3 separate regions of the Homo sapiens genome follow, and all the other regions are linked to region 1. The links are contacts of gene promoters, found by promoter capture Hi-C in blood cells and fetal thymus (Javierre and others, 2016). All regions are on one chromosome and are shown on one strand. Each heading gives the region's core, a stretch centred on a gene start or on the middle of the fragment in contact. The rest is flanking DNA. Distances are from core to core; before and after follow the strand shown. Region 1 holds the start of CENPK (centromere protein K). Region 2 holds the start of KIF2A (kinesin family member 2A). Region 3 has its middle 2.4 kb from the start of IPO11.

Region 1 (4,095 bases), core at 583-3,082:
TGAAGGCTACCTGTAAATTCAGTATTGATATATAACTACCTCAGAGTTATGATCAAAGTGCTTCAGAAATCCAGTCCAGACTGGAGAAGTCACAGGCTTCCCAGAGAAGATGATAGCTAAGTGCTAAAGGTTGACCAAAAGTCAGTTCAGTGGAAGAGTTGAGGGAAATTATTCCCGGTAGAAACACCATATCTGGGTAGGAATCCAGAGGAAAAAAAAGTACAAGACCGATTCTCGAGTGATTTTAGAATGGGTGGAGTACAAAGTAAGGGGTTGGGAGAGGAAGGTAATGGAAGATGCACTAAGAAGGTAAGGAGAGATCACATCATAAAGGGCTTTATATGCCATGTGAGGGAGTTTGGGCTTTAATGAAAATAATGAGCTGGGCGCCGTGGCTCATGCCTGTAATCCCAGCACTTTTGAGAGGCCGAGGCAGGCAGATTACGAGGTCAAGAAATCAAGACCATCCTGGCCAACATGGTGAAACCCCGTCCCTACTAAAAATACAAAAATTAGCTGGGCGTGCGCCTGTAGCCCCAGCTACTCGGGAGGCTGAGGCAGGAGAATCGCTTGAACCCCGGAGACGGAGGTTGCGGTGAGCCGAGATAGCGCCACTGCATGCGCTCCAGCCTGGGCGACAGAGCGAGACTCCGTCTCAAAAAAAAAAAAAAAAAAAAAAAAGAGAGAGAAAATAATGACAAATCATTGAAGTTTTTTAAGGGAAGGTGCTAAAGTACGATTTGAGCTTAGACCACATTTAAAATGTCTTAAATACTTAAGGAAAACATTTCACAGAAAAACAAGATAACAAAACAACAAAGACAAGAAAACTTAATCTACCCCTTTTCCCACCCCTTTTATTTGATAATAATTTGTGATTATTCCTCGTTAGTGACAAAAAGACTCAGCCCATCGTATCAAGAGCGTGATTTCAAAACCACAGACTTCGGGTTTTGGATGAAAACAAATCTGTGATCTAGGAAGCTTACGTCATTTTCCCTAGATGCGAAAATTTATTAGTGGAAGTGTCAGAGTTGAAATTATCTTTACCTACCATGATTCGAAATAAGCACCGCCTTCCTCTCGCGCCCCAACACATTAATACATTAACACCACTCCTGAACTAAAGCCTTAAAGAGAACTGGTACCCTTTTGCATACCTAAATAAGAGTTCGAAATTCCAACTTCATGTGGCTGCTGTGGGGAGTAAATGAGAGGAGCCAAACACATAAGAATAGGAAAATGTTAGTTTTAGCATCTGTCATAACAAATCAATGATCAAAAGTGTTAGATATTATCAAAAAGACGTTGTACTACGCTTAAATCACTATTTCGTTAAGACATGCAAGTATGGAGTAGCCAGAAGTGAGAGGACGGCCCTCTGTTCTGAGGGCACAAAACTCCACACATCATCCCTCTTCGGATCTGGCTTGAACCCTCCTACTCAGCGGACGCAGCACTCCAATTCGTCCCGGTACTATGTCTGCAGCTACCTTTCCTCTTCTTGGCCAGTGTTGCCTCCACAGGTAAAGGTCCAACCCAGCGCTCTTCGTTCTCCTCATCGTTCTCCTGGGACACCGCCACTGCTACTGCCAGCTCTCTTTCGCTGAGTTCTGTTTTTTCCGGTTCCTCCGGGTCCCGGCGCCTTCTACGTCTCTGCTGAAAATCGCTACCACTTTCCGCCGCCATGTTGTTCGCATCGTCAGAAAAGGCGCGACACAAAACTCAGCTACCAATCCCAAAGCAGCGGCGCAGTCTTCTGTCAGCGTCCGAGCGAGTTTCGGGATTGGCTGGGGTGGGAATGAGCACATCCAATGGGCATGCAGCGCGCGCAGAAGTCCGGGGCTGGCAAGCGCTTCCTGCGCAGCGCCTAGGCGACCTGGAGTTTGTGACGCTGTGATGGTAAGACCTGGGCCGGGGAGGTTGATATAACGGTTGAATCTTGTGGAGCTCCAGTCCTGAAGGTGAAACCCTTATCGCCGGCCAACTAGATACCTGACTTCCCAGCCGGGCTTTGAGTCCCGTTCTTCTCGGCTTCCCGCGCGCCAACGCAAGCTCCATAACCTCACCAATATTTAGAGAAAGATGGAAGGGTGGGGACAGAAGGAAGTGGTTAACTCGCGGGTTTCCTTTCAGATGCACTAAACATGTTTTCTCTCCTGACCTTTATTCTCTCACACACTCTCTGAAGAAGGTGGTGAGTGCTTGTTACTGTTTCTGGGGGTGGGGTGGAGAAGCAGCTACTTCAAATAACCAAAAGACCTAGGGCAGAACGGGTCACTCTTCTTTCTTCTCTCTGGTATAGGATTTCATCTCCTAGCAGTCATCTGAACTCTTTCTCCTCCTCCTCATCTGTCTTCTTCATTTTTAAAAAATTAGGTAAAAAGCACATAACATAAAATGTATTATCTTAATCTCTTTTTTAAAAAATCAAATACAGCTTGTCAAAATGACCTCCGTAAAACACTTCTTTTTTCTCTGCAATTACTTTTGCACCAACCTAATAAAATCCTCGTCGTAAATCTCTTCTCTACTTTTGCCTTGAGATAGGCACCACGTACAGGGAAGGAACTGCCCCCCCATAGTAGGCACTTTATTTTATTTCAAAGGTTCCCATTATTTGACCATTCTACCTAGCAAGTCTCATTTCTTCTCTGCCCTCTGCTCTCATCAGACTACTTTCTTTTGTGTCTCACAAATTTCCCTTGTTCGTTCTTGCCTCCTACTCTTATGTTTTTATGCTTGAAAGCATCTCCACAGCGATTTAGCCTTCATGTTTACAGCTTCTCATCTTTCAGAGACCAATGCAATAATGAGGATGAAGATGATAATGATAATGATAATAATAATGTAGCTAGTTAACATTTATTAAGCATTATTATGGACTAATTCCTTCCGGGTTGGTTTTTCTAAGCTTCCCTATCCTGAATTCCGATAGTACTTGCAGGCAGTGTTGTATACTTTACCATTTCATAGCACTTCTGACTACCTGAAATCATATCATGTATTTAGTTATCCATTCATTTATATTGTCTGCATGAGAATGGAAGCTCTACAAGTACAAAGACTTTTTCATCTACACAGCTAAAGCCAGTGTCTGACCAATGGCACACATTAACATATTTGTTGAATAAATGAATGTATTTTAGAATTATGTGGGTATTTTTTGCTTATTTCATGTATATTAATCTTTTCCCAATTAATAGTACGAGTTTCTTTAAGTATAGTATTATCCCTAAATAAAGAGATACTGTTTTTCTTCAATAAATGATTAAGTATTGTAGTCCTAACTGGGGACCTCAAAAAGTTGACTTGTTCCCTTTCCAGGAAGATAGGTTTAAGGATACAAAATGTGGGAACGGGAAAAGTTCAACTCTTAAGTGTGTGTGTGTGTGTGTGTGTTTTAATTAAACAACTGAAATTTATTTCTCACAGGTCTAGAGGCTGGAGATTCAAGATCTGGGTGCCATCATTTTCTGGTTCTGTTGATGACCCTCTTCCAGGTTACATACAGCTTACATCTTGCATCCTCAAGCGGTAGAGAGCAAACTCTTAAATGTTTCTATATGTTTTTATTCTACTGCCACATTAAATCGCCAAGCCAGATAATTTGTTGAATATTTATCCCTCACCCTCCGCCCCCACCACATGTGCAGAGTTTTGCATTACTTTTGCATATTGATAATGTATTTTGGTGGTCAGTAAAGAAATATTTATGTTTGACTTTTTCGCTTAAAAATATTCTAAAATTCATGATGACTGATTTTGGCTTTGTGAACTTAAACTGTATCTTATGGGTATAGCAGGTGAGATTTTCAGCCTTCTACTAGTTGACATTCAAATTGTTAATAGCTAACACTGATAAAGCTCTTTATATGCTAGCTACAGTACTTATATATATATATTTATATACTCATTTAATTGTCATAACCCTAGGGAGTATTTAATATTATCTTCATTTTATAGGAAAGGAAACTGAGGCATAGAAAGTTTAAGTGACTTGCCCAAGTCTCATAGCTTTTAAATATCAAAACAGATTTAAACCTGTATAGTCTGGTTGCAGAGTTCATACCTTTAAAGTTTTTTTTTCTCTAA
Region 2 (4,095 bases), core at 856-3,355, 3.3 Mb after region 1:
ACCTAAAAAAATGACATTAACAGCACTCTTTCAAGAAAGTAATCTGAAGAGAAAATATAAAAGAAACCTCAACCCAAGTAAAGAAGGTATCTCTTTCCCATTAGTGTTATTGGTAATTTCTAAAGCTCTAAGCGGTATAATTTATCTTTTCATATACAGGATAACGATGGTTTCAGTTGTTACCACAAATTACTTCAAATATAACGGAGGAAAAAATCATTAGCTATATAGGGTCTTCCAATATATCATACACACAACATGAAAATCAATCTAGCTTCACGTAACTTGGTCAAACCTGGCAGAATCCAAGGGGCACGTGGACGTGACAGCCAAGTTACTACTGACTAGGCTAGGCTAAAGGTTAATAAATAAGGCACTCATAAAAGGAATCGAGGCCAGGCGCGATGGCTCACGCCTGTAATCCCAGCACATTGGGAGGCCGAGGCAGGTGGATCACTTGAGGTCAGGAGTTCGAGACCAGCCTTGTCAACATGGTGAAACCCCGTCTCTACTAAAAATACAAAAAATTAGCTGGGTGTGGTGACAACGCCTGTAATCCCAGCTACTCAGGAGGCTGAGGCACAAGAATAGCTTCAACACGGGAGGCGGAGGTTGCAGTGGGCCGAGATCGCACCACTGCACTCCAGCCTGGGTGAAAATCCGTCTCAAAAAAAAAAAAAAAGGAATCGGTATGAGAGATGGAGTCAGGAACACTGCTCAACTCGAGATTATCACACATCTCTCGTTCTTTCAATATTGGTACCGAAAGAAAATAATTTTACTTATCTCCCTCCGTGCATTTATTCCTTTACAATATGAATTATTTCCAGTCTGGCTGGCGTATCTCACTCCACACCCCAAGCTAGTGTCATAAACCATTTTCCCCAAGAGAAACCTAGAGAAAGATACATAAGCCTAAGGCTCTTAAAAAAAAAAATGAAGCATGTGTCTTCACCTCGCCTTACACTTTTCTCAGTTACCTCTCCCGAGGGTGTGAAAATATCAACATCCGGTCGCCCACCCCCACTCTCTCAGCAGTGCCTCGCATTGACTCTGCCCATCCCCTATCATTCCCTTTACAGTCTCATCACCTTGGAGAAGCCCATCGAATATTTCTTCCCATTGCTCCCCCACCCTTATTCATGGCTCAGCGCGATATTCTCCACATTTTTCTCCCAAGAAGTGGCAAAAAAGAAAGCAGCATGGTCGACGACGAAACCGGGGAGGCCTGACAACCAGACGGCAGTTTAAGGCGACGGAACTGGCTCTTTCCCCCCATCTCGGCCTCCGACCAGCAGTCGGTTCTCTAAATGTGAAATCGCTGGTCTTCCCGCTCCCCCACCCCCATCCCCATCCCCGTCAGAGGCCAAGCCGGTAAAATGCAAAGACCAAGGGGAAGCGCGAGGCAGGGTCATCCCTAACGAAGCCCGCTCCCTCCCGGGCTGGTGTCCCCGGGGGGGGGCTGGAGATTGCGGGAGGAGGAGCGAGCGGCCCTCGCCCAGAGACCCCCGGAGACGCGACCCTCGACACCCGGGCCCTTTCCCCACCCGGCTTCCCTCCCCCGCGGCCCGATCCGGAGAACTGCAGCAGCGCCCGGGCGGACCCCAAGCCGGCCTCACTGGCACACACGCCACACACAAAAGCGCCGCGGCCGCCGCCTTCCCACCCCCACAGCCCGGCGAAGCAATCAATGAGGCGGCCGGCGCCCGCGTCCCCTCCGTGCACACCCGAACACGGGGCCGAGCGGGCCAGCGGGGCTGGCAGCGCGGCTCACCATCGCTGCGCTTGATCTCCACGTAAATCCCGATCTGGATCTTGCCGAAGTTGGCCGTTGCCATCACCTCATCTGGAGCAGCAGCAGCGGGCCGAGGGAGGGGGACCGGAGGGCGGAAAAGGCGGGGAGGGGGCGGGGTAGGTGTGGGAGGGGGAGCGGTTGCCCGCGGCCGCGCCGGCCCGGGCGACAGCGTGAACGCAAGCGGGGCCGCAAGGAGCAGCTGTGGGGAAGCAGGCGGAGGCCCCGGGCCTGCAGGCCGGCAGGAGGACGCGCACGCCGGGTAGTCGGGGTGAAGCTAGGGCCGGGGCCGTGAGACGGCGCGGGGTAGAGTGGGAGGGCCCGCACCGCCCGCCGGGGAGCCGACGCTGGGGAGGCGGGGCGCCGCGCGCCTGCGCAGAGCGCGCCTCCGGCGTCTCTTCTTCCTTTTCGGCTGGCCTCTCCCCGCTGCCTCCAGGCGGCCCCGCCCAGCTCTGCAGCGGGGTGGGCGGCGGCCGCGGCTTACCCAGCCGCTGGAGCGTTGAGCGCTCGGCCCGGCCCACAGCTAGCCGGCGTCGCGTTTGATTTCAGCGCGCGGCCTAGAAGACGCGGGAAGCGTCGCGCCGAGCTTTCTTGCCCTCTCGCTTCCGGGAATTGGCGCTGTTGCCGGAATGGGTTAAAGGCCACGTGGTTTCAGGGGCTTTCTAGCGGGCTGAGGGATGTGAATTCAAGGGCCCTCCGTTGACAGTACGGGATCCGGGTTTTCATCGGAAGGTGGCACCCCCTATTTCCACTTACAGGTAGCTGACCCAAGCAGCCCTCCCAAGCACACTTGGTGTAGGTTTCCCATCCAGTTACGCTGGAAGGGAAGAAACACCCTTGAGGTGTCACCTACCCTAAATCGAAATGAAGATCCACCCCTTTACAGTCTTGCCTTATAGTTTATCACACTCAGAAAGAAGCTCTGTGGTGGGGCGTCCTTAACTGTTCAGGTTATGAGGCATCCGATGCTGGTGCCCTGTTTCTGCTGAGGGTTCAAGACTTACTTGCCTTGGCCTGTAAAGCCAACAACTGTGACTCAAGGGAAGAAGGCAGACACATAAGGTTGACTAGGGAATGTGTCTTTTTGCAATAATTTAATTAGTCTGACCACATCAGCAATGTGGAAAGCAAGACTCTCCATCCTGGCAGAGCAGGAAGGCCACGTGTACCGGGGCCCTGGAAACTGTATTTATAGCACCGTGTGAAAACCTCCAAACGTCTAACTCCTGCTTGTAGTACTGGCAATTGATAGGTTGGAAACAACACTTTTCATGGCCTACTTTCCCTAGTCATTGTTTTTTGTTGTTGTTGTTTTGTTTTGTTTGTTTTTGAGGGGGAGTCTTGCTCTGTCGCTCAGGCTGGAGTGCAGTGGCGCGATCTCCGCTCACTGCAATCTCTGCCTCCTGTGTTCAAGCGATTCTCACGCCTCAGCCTTCCGAGTAGGTGGGATTACAGGCCCGCGCCACCACGCCTGGCTAATTTTTGTATTTTTAGTAGAGACGGGGTTTCACCATGTTGGCCAGGCTGGTCTCAAACTCCTGACCTCAGGTAATCCACCCGCCTCCACCACCCAGAGTGCTGAGATTACAGGCATGAGCCACTGCGCCCGGCCTTCCCTAGTCATTGATAATCTCCCTGTAACAATAACTACAAATATACAATTTAAAATTTTAAAATTGGAAACTGGATATATACATCAATGCTTATGTGGATATATGTGTGCCTAGAGTTTTCTATCTAATGTAAGTAATCATGTAGGTCCTTAAAAAACTGTTAAAAGACTGGCTTCATCTGTAGCTTGAACATATTGAAGGTATACCTGTCAAAAGAACAATTCTATTGAATCCATTCTAAAGTGCATATAATTTCTATGGAAAAAAAACCACACTGGATAGACAATGTGGAAAATAACTTCTTTTACATTCCAGAAATGACACACTTGAGTACCCCGGTTTCAAGTGAAATTTGACCAAATCAGGGTTTAGTTTTTATTTTTTCTATAATTTTGGGAGTTTTATCTGAACTCTTCAAGCTCCTGTCTAGAATTCATTTTCTGATGTCTCTGCAACTGAGGTATAAAACATCTATTTATATTTTATTTATACTTTATAAAGAATGCAAAGAAATCAAGCTATACAGCTCAAAGTTAACATTGTTTCATAAAATATTATTATTATTATTATTAGAGACGAAGTCTAACTCTGTCGTGCCTAGGCTAGAGTGCAGTGGCATGATCTCAGCTCACTGCCACCTCCACCTCCCAGGTTCAAGTTATTCTCCTGCCTCAGCCTCCCAAGTAGTTG
Region 3 (4,095 bases), core at 1,019-3,518, 3.2 Mb after region 1:
TCAATAGCGGATCCGTCACAGCAGAGAAGAGTTATTTAAAGAATCTTACTCCCATCAGTCCACCCTCCCTCCCGCAAATATTTATTTTTTAAGTTACCCAAATTGCTTGGCGCTTACTCCTGAGTAATAGCAAGAGTGGAAAAATGTAAAAGGACATAAATCCAGTTCTGCTTGCCTCTGCTAAAAGCTAGCATAGTCACCTAAATTTTCTTATCCTTAAAAAGAGAACTTACTCAGGCGCAGTGGCGCGCGCCTGTAGTCCCAGCTACTCCAGATATGGAGGCAGGAGGATCACTTGAGCCCAGGAATTCGAAGCCAACCTGGGACATATAGAGAGTTCACACACACACACACACACACACACACACACCCATTTCAAAAATAATAAGGGGTGGGCACAGTAGCTCACACCTGTAATCCCGGCACTTTGGGAGGCTGAGGCGGCCGGACCACGAAGTCCGAAGTTCGAGACCAGCCTGGCCAACATGATGAAACCCTGTCTCTACTAAAAATACAGTAATTAGCCTGGCGCGGTGGCGGGCGCCTGTAATCCCAGCTACTCAGGAGGCTGAGGCAGGGGAATCGCTTGAACCCTGGAGGCAGAGGTTGCAGTGAGCCAAGATTGCTCCACTGCACTCCAGCCTGGGCAACAGAGCGAGACTCCGTCTCAAAATAAATAAACAAATAAATAAATAAATAAATAAATAGACTCCGTCTCAAAATAAATAAATTAATTAAAAATACACACCAACTATATATTTCTTAAAAATAATAATAGTAAGGCCAGGCACAGTGGCTCACGCCTGTAATCCCAGCACTTTGGGAGGCCGAGGCGGGCAGATCACCTTAGGTCAGGAGTTCGAGACCAGCTTGACCAACAAGGAGAAACCCCATCTCTACTAAAAATATAAAAAATTAGCTGGGCATGATGGTGCACCCCTGTAATCCCAGCTACTCGGGAGGCTGAGGTAGGAGAATCGCTTGAACCCTGGGGGCAAAGGTTGCAGTGAGGCGAGATCGCGCCATTGCACTCCAGCCTGGGCAATAAGAGCAAAACTCCGTCTCAAAATAATAATAATAATAGTAAAAGAAGTTGTAAGGAAATAGAGTGTTCAAAAATATTAATAATAGAAAACCTTTATTGCTAATTTAGAATATTCCAGGTACAGTTTTAAGATCTTTATGGGAATTATCTATTTTAATCCTCAGAACAACCCTTATGAGGTAGGTATTTTCTTTATGTCCACTTCACAGATGAAGAAACTGAAGCACAGAGAAGTCAAGTAGCCCACCTAACGTCAAACAGCTAGTAAAAGGCCATGTTAGGATTTGAACCAAGCTCTGCATTCCAAGAATGTCGATCACACAAGGGCTGTTTTTTAAAGTAAAAAGATAAAATTACCTAAACAACCACCAATGACACAAATGATTAAATCACAATACATCCATACATAATAAAATACAAATTGACCATTTAAAATTATGTTGAGGTCGGGCACAGTGGCTCACACCTGTAATCACAGCACTTTGGGAGACCAAGACGGACAGGTCACCTGAGGTCAGGAGTTCAAGACCAGCTTGGCCAACATGGTGAAACCCTGTCTCTACTGAAACTACAAAAATTAGCCTGGCGTGGTGGCATGCGCTTGTAATCCCAGCTACTCAGGAGACTGAGACAGAAGAATCGCTTGAGGCCGGGAGGCGGAGGTTGCAGTGAGCCGAGTTCGCACCACTGCACTCCAGCCTAAGCGACAGAGCGAGACTCCATCTCAAGAAAAAATAAATAGGCCGGGCGCAGTGTCTCATGCCTGTAATTCCAGCACTTTGGGAGGCCGGGGCATGTGGATTGCTGGAGGTCAGGAGAGCGAGACCAGCCTGGCCAACATGGTGAAACCCTATCTCTACTAAAAATACAGAAATTTAGCTGGGCTTTGTGGCAGGCACCTGTAATCCCAGCTACTCGGGAGGCTGAGGCAGGAGAATTGCTGGAACCCAGGAGGCAGAGGTTGCAGTGAGCCGAGATCGTGCCACTGCACTCCAGCCTGGGCGGCAGAGGGAGACTCTGTCTCAAAAAAATATATATTAATTAATTAATTAAACAAAATAAAATTATCTTGAAGTGTATTTGTTGACATGTTTACACATGCACAATGCATTGTGAAAAAAGAGGGTTGCAAAACATTATGTTCAGAATGTCCCACTTTTGGAAATAAATAAATGCCAAAATGCTAGGAGGGTTTATCACTAGTTGGATGGGTATTGTGACCATGCTTTATTTTCTTTTTGCTTAACTGTATCTTCTGATTTTATTGAAAGATAGTACTTCTCAGGCTTGGAGAGGTGGCTCACACCTGTAATCCCAGCACTTTGGGAGGCTGAGGCAGGCGGATCACCTGAGGTCGGGAGTTCGAGGCCAGCCTGATCAACATGGAGAAACTCCGTCTCTACCCAAAATACAAAAATTAGCTGGGCGTGGTGGCACATGCCTGTAATCCTAGCTGCTCGGAAGGCTGAGGCAGGAGAATGGTTTGAACCCGGGAGGCAGAGGTTGCAGTGAGCCGAGACTGCACCATTGCACTCCAGCCTGGGGGCAACAGAGCAAAACTCTGTCTCAAAAAAAAATAAAAAACAAAGATAGTACTTCTCAAATTTTAAGTGTTCATAGAATCACATAGGGATCTTGTTAAAATACAGTTCATGATTCATTTAGTCTGAGGTGAGGCTCGAGGTTCTCCATTTCTAAACAAATTTAGATCTATGTTTCCTGGTAGGTAGAATAAAAGATGTCCATGTCCTAATCCCCAAAACCTGTGAATATGTTACTTTACAGAGCAAAAGGGATTTTGCCAATGTGATTAAATTATCCAGGATAATCTTACTATGGGAAGATTATGCTGGATTATCCTCTAGGTCCAATGTAATCAGAGGGGTCTTTATAAGAGGGACGCTGGAGTGTCCAAGACAAAGAAAATATGCCAGTATAATAGATGTCAGAGGGATGCCAGGGCCATGAGCCAAGGAATGCAGAAAGCCTATAGAAGCTGGAAAAGTCATGGAAACTGATTCTCTTCTACAGCCTCCAGAAGAAACTCAGACATGAAAACAATTTTAGACTTCTAACCTCCAGAACTCTAAATTAATAAATGTATCTTGTTTTAAGCCACTAATTAGGTTTGTGGTACTTTGCTGAAGCAGCAATAGAATATATGCTCAAAAGTTATAGGCTCTCTAATTTGCTACCCTTCATTTATTATTTTAACTTGCATAAAATTGAGTCTTGGATAACTCTACATTATAATACAGCTCATTAGATGCTTATAAATTAACATAATTCCTAGATTCATTTTTGTTTATAATAAACTTGAAACAAGTTTATTATTTCCATAAGGACTGATTATGTAAATCAGTCCTGGGAGGCAGAGGTTGCAGTGAGCAGAGATTGTGCCACTGCACTCCAGCCTGGGCAACAGAGCAAGACTCCGTCTCAAAAAATAAAAAAAGAAAATAATTTGTCAATTTATATTCAAAGACTAAAATGTTCACGCAGTTTGAGTAAATAATTCCATGCCTGGAAATCTATACTAGAGAACCAATTCAAAGTACTGAAAATATTTTCCAGGTATAAACTAAAATGTCTATGGCTCTATTTTTATAAGAACAATGGAATAGGCAGGATTTAGTAAACCCTTACGCATTCACAAGGTGAAAGTTTCTGTAGCAGTTTTCTTTCTTTCTTTTTTTTTTTTTTGAGACGGAGTCTCGCTCTGTCGCCCAGGCTGGAGTGCAGTGGCCCGATCTCAGCTCACTGCAAGCTCCGCCTTCCGGGTTCACGCCGTTCTGCTGATCTCGTGATCCGCCCCGCCTCGGCCTCCCAAAGTGCTGGGATTACAGGCGTGAGCCACCGCGCCCGGCCAACAGTTTTCAATATTAATTATTCAGAGTGTGTAATAACTTGGAAAAGGGCTTTTTTTTTCTTTTTTGCTTTTAGAGACAGGGTCTCTGGCTATGTTGCTCTGGCTGGTCTCAAACTCCTGGGCTCAAGTGTTCCTCCCATCTCAGTCTCCTTAATGAAGCTGGGATTAGGAGCATGCACCA

The links. The method cuts DNA at HindIII sites, captures the fragments that hold promoters and counts their contacts. A CHiCAGO score of 5 or more calls a contact.
Region 2: a contact is called between the fragment with the promoter of KIF2A here and the fragment with the promoter of CENPK in region 1, in 3 of 17 cell types (naive CD8 T cells, total CD4 T cells and total B cells). The highest score is 10.4, in naive CD8 T cells.
Region 3: a contact is called between a fragment that was not itself captured here and the fragment with the promoter of CENPK in region 1, in 9 of 17 cell types (total CD4 T cells, naive CD8 T cells, non-activated CD4 T cells and 6 more). The highest score is 13.2, in total CD4 T cells.

Annotation. Positions count from the first base shown.
Region 1 is chr5:65,560,905-65,564,999 of GRCh38, reverse strand. It overlaps CENPK (centromere protein K), which reads left to right and starts at 1,832. Exons shown (of 11, transcript NM_022145.5): 1 at 1,832-1,902; 2 at 3,436-3,537. PPWD1 (peptidylprolyl isomerase domain and WD repeat containing 1) reads right to left here and starts at 1,704. Exons shown (of 11, transcript NM_015342.4): 1 at 1,494-1,704. The coding sequence starts at 1,689. RefSeq lists enhancers at 1,255-1,915, 2,056-2,195, 1,916-2,577. The HindIII fragment of the contact is 1,930 bases long and covers 987-2,916 here.
Region 2 is chr5:62,304,216-62,308,310 of GRCh38, reverse strand. It overlaps KIF2A (kinesin family member 2A), which reads right to left and starts at 2,105. Exons shown (of 21, transcript NM_001098511.3): 1 at 1,775-2,105. The coding sequence starts at 1,838. RefSeq lists a silencer at 1,372-2,401. The HindIII fragment of the contact is 9,341 bases long and covers 1-4,095 here.
Region 3 is chr5:62,408,358-62,412,452 of GRCh38, reverse strand. No RefSeq gene overlaps it. Among named protein-coding and RNA genes, the nearest start is that of IPO11, 2.4 kb to the left of the region's middle. The HindIII fragment of the contact is 4,608 bases long and covers 1-4,095 here.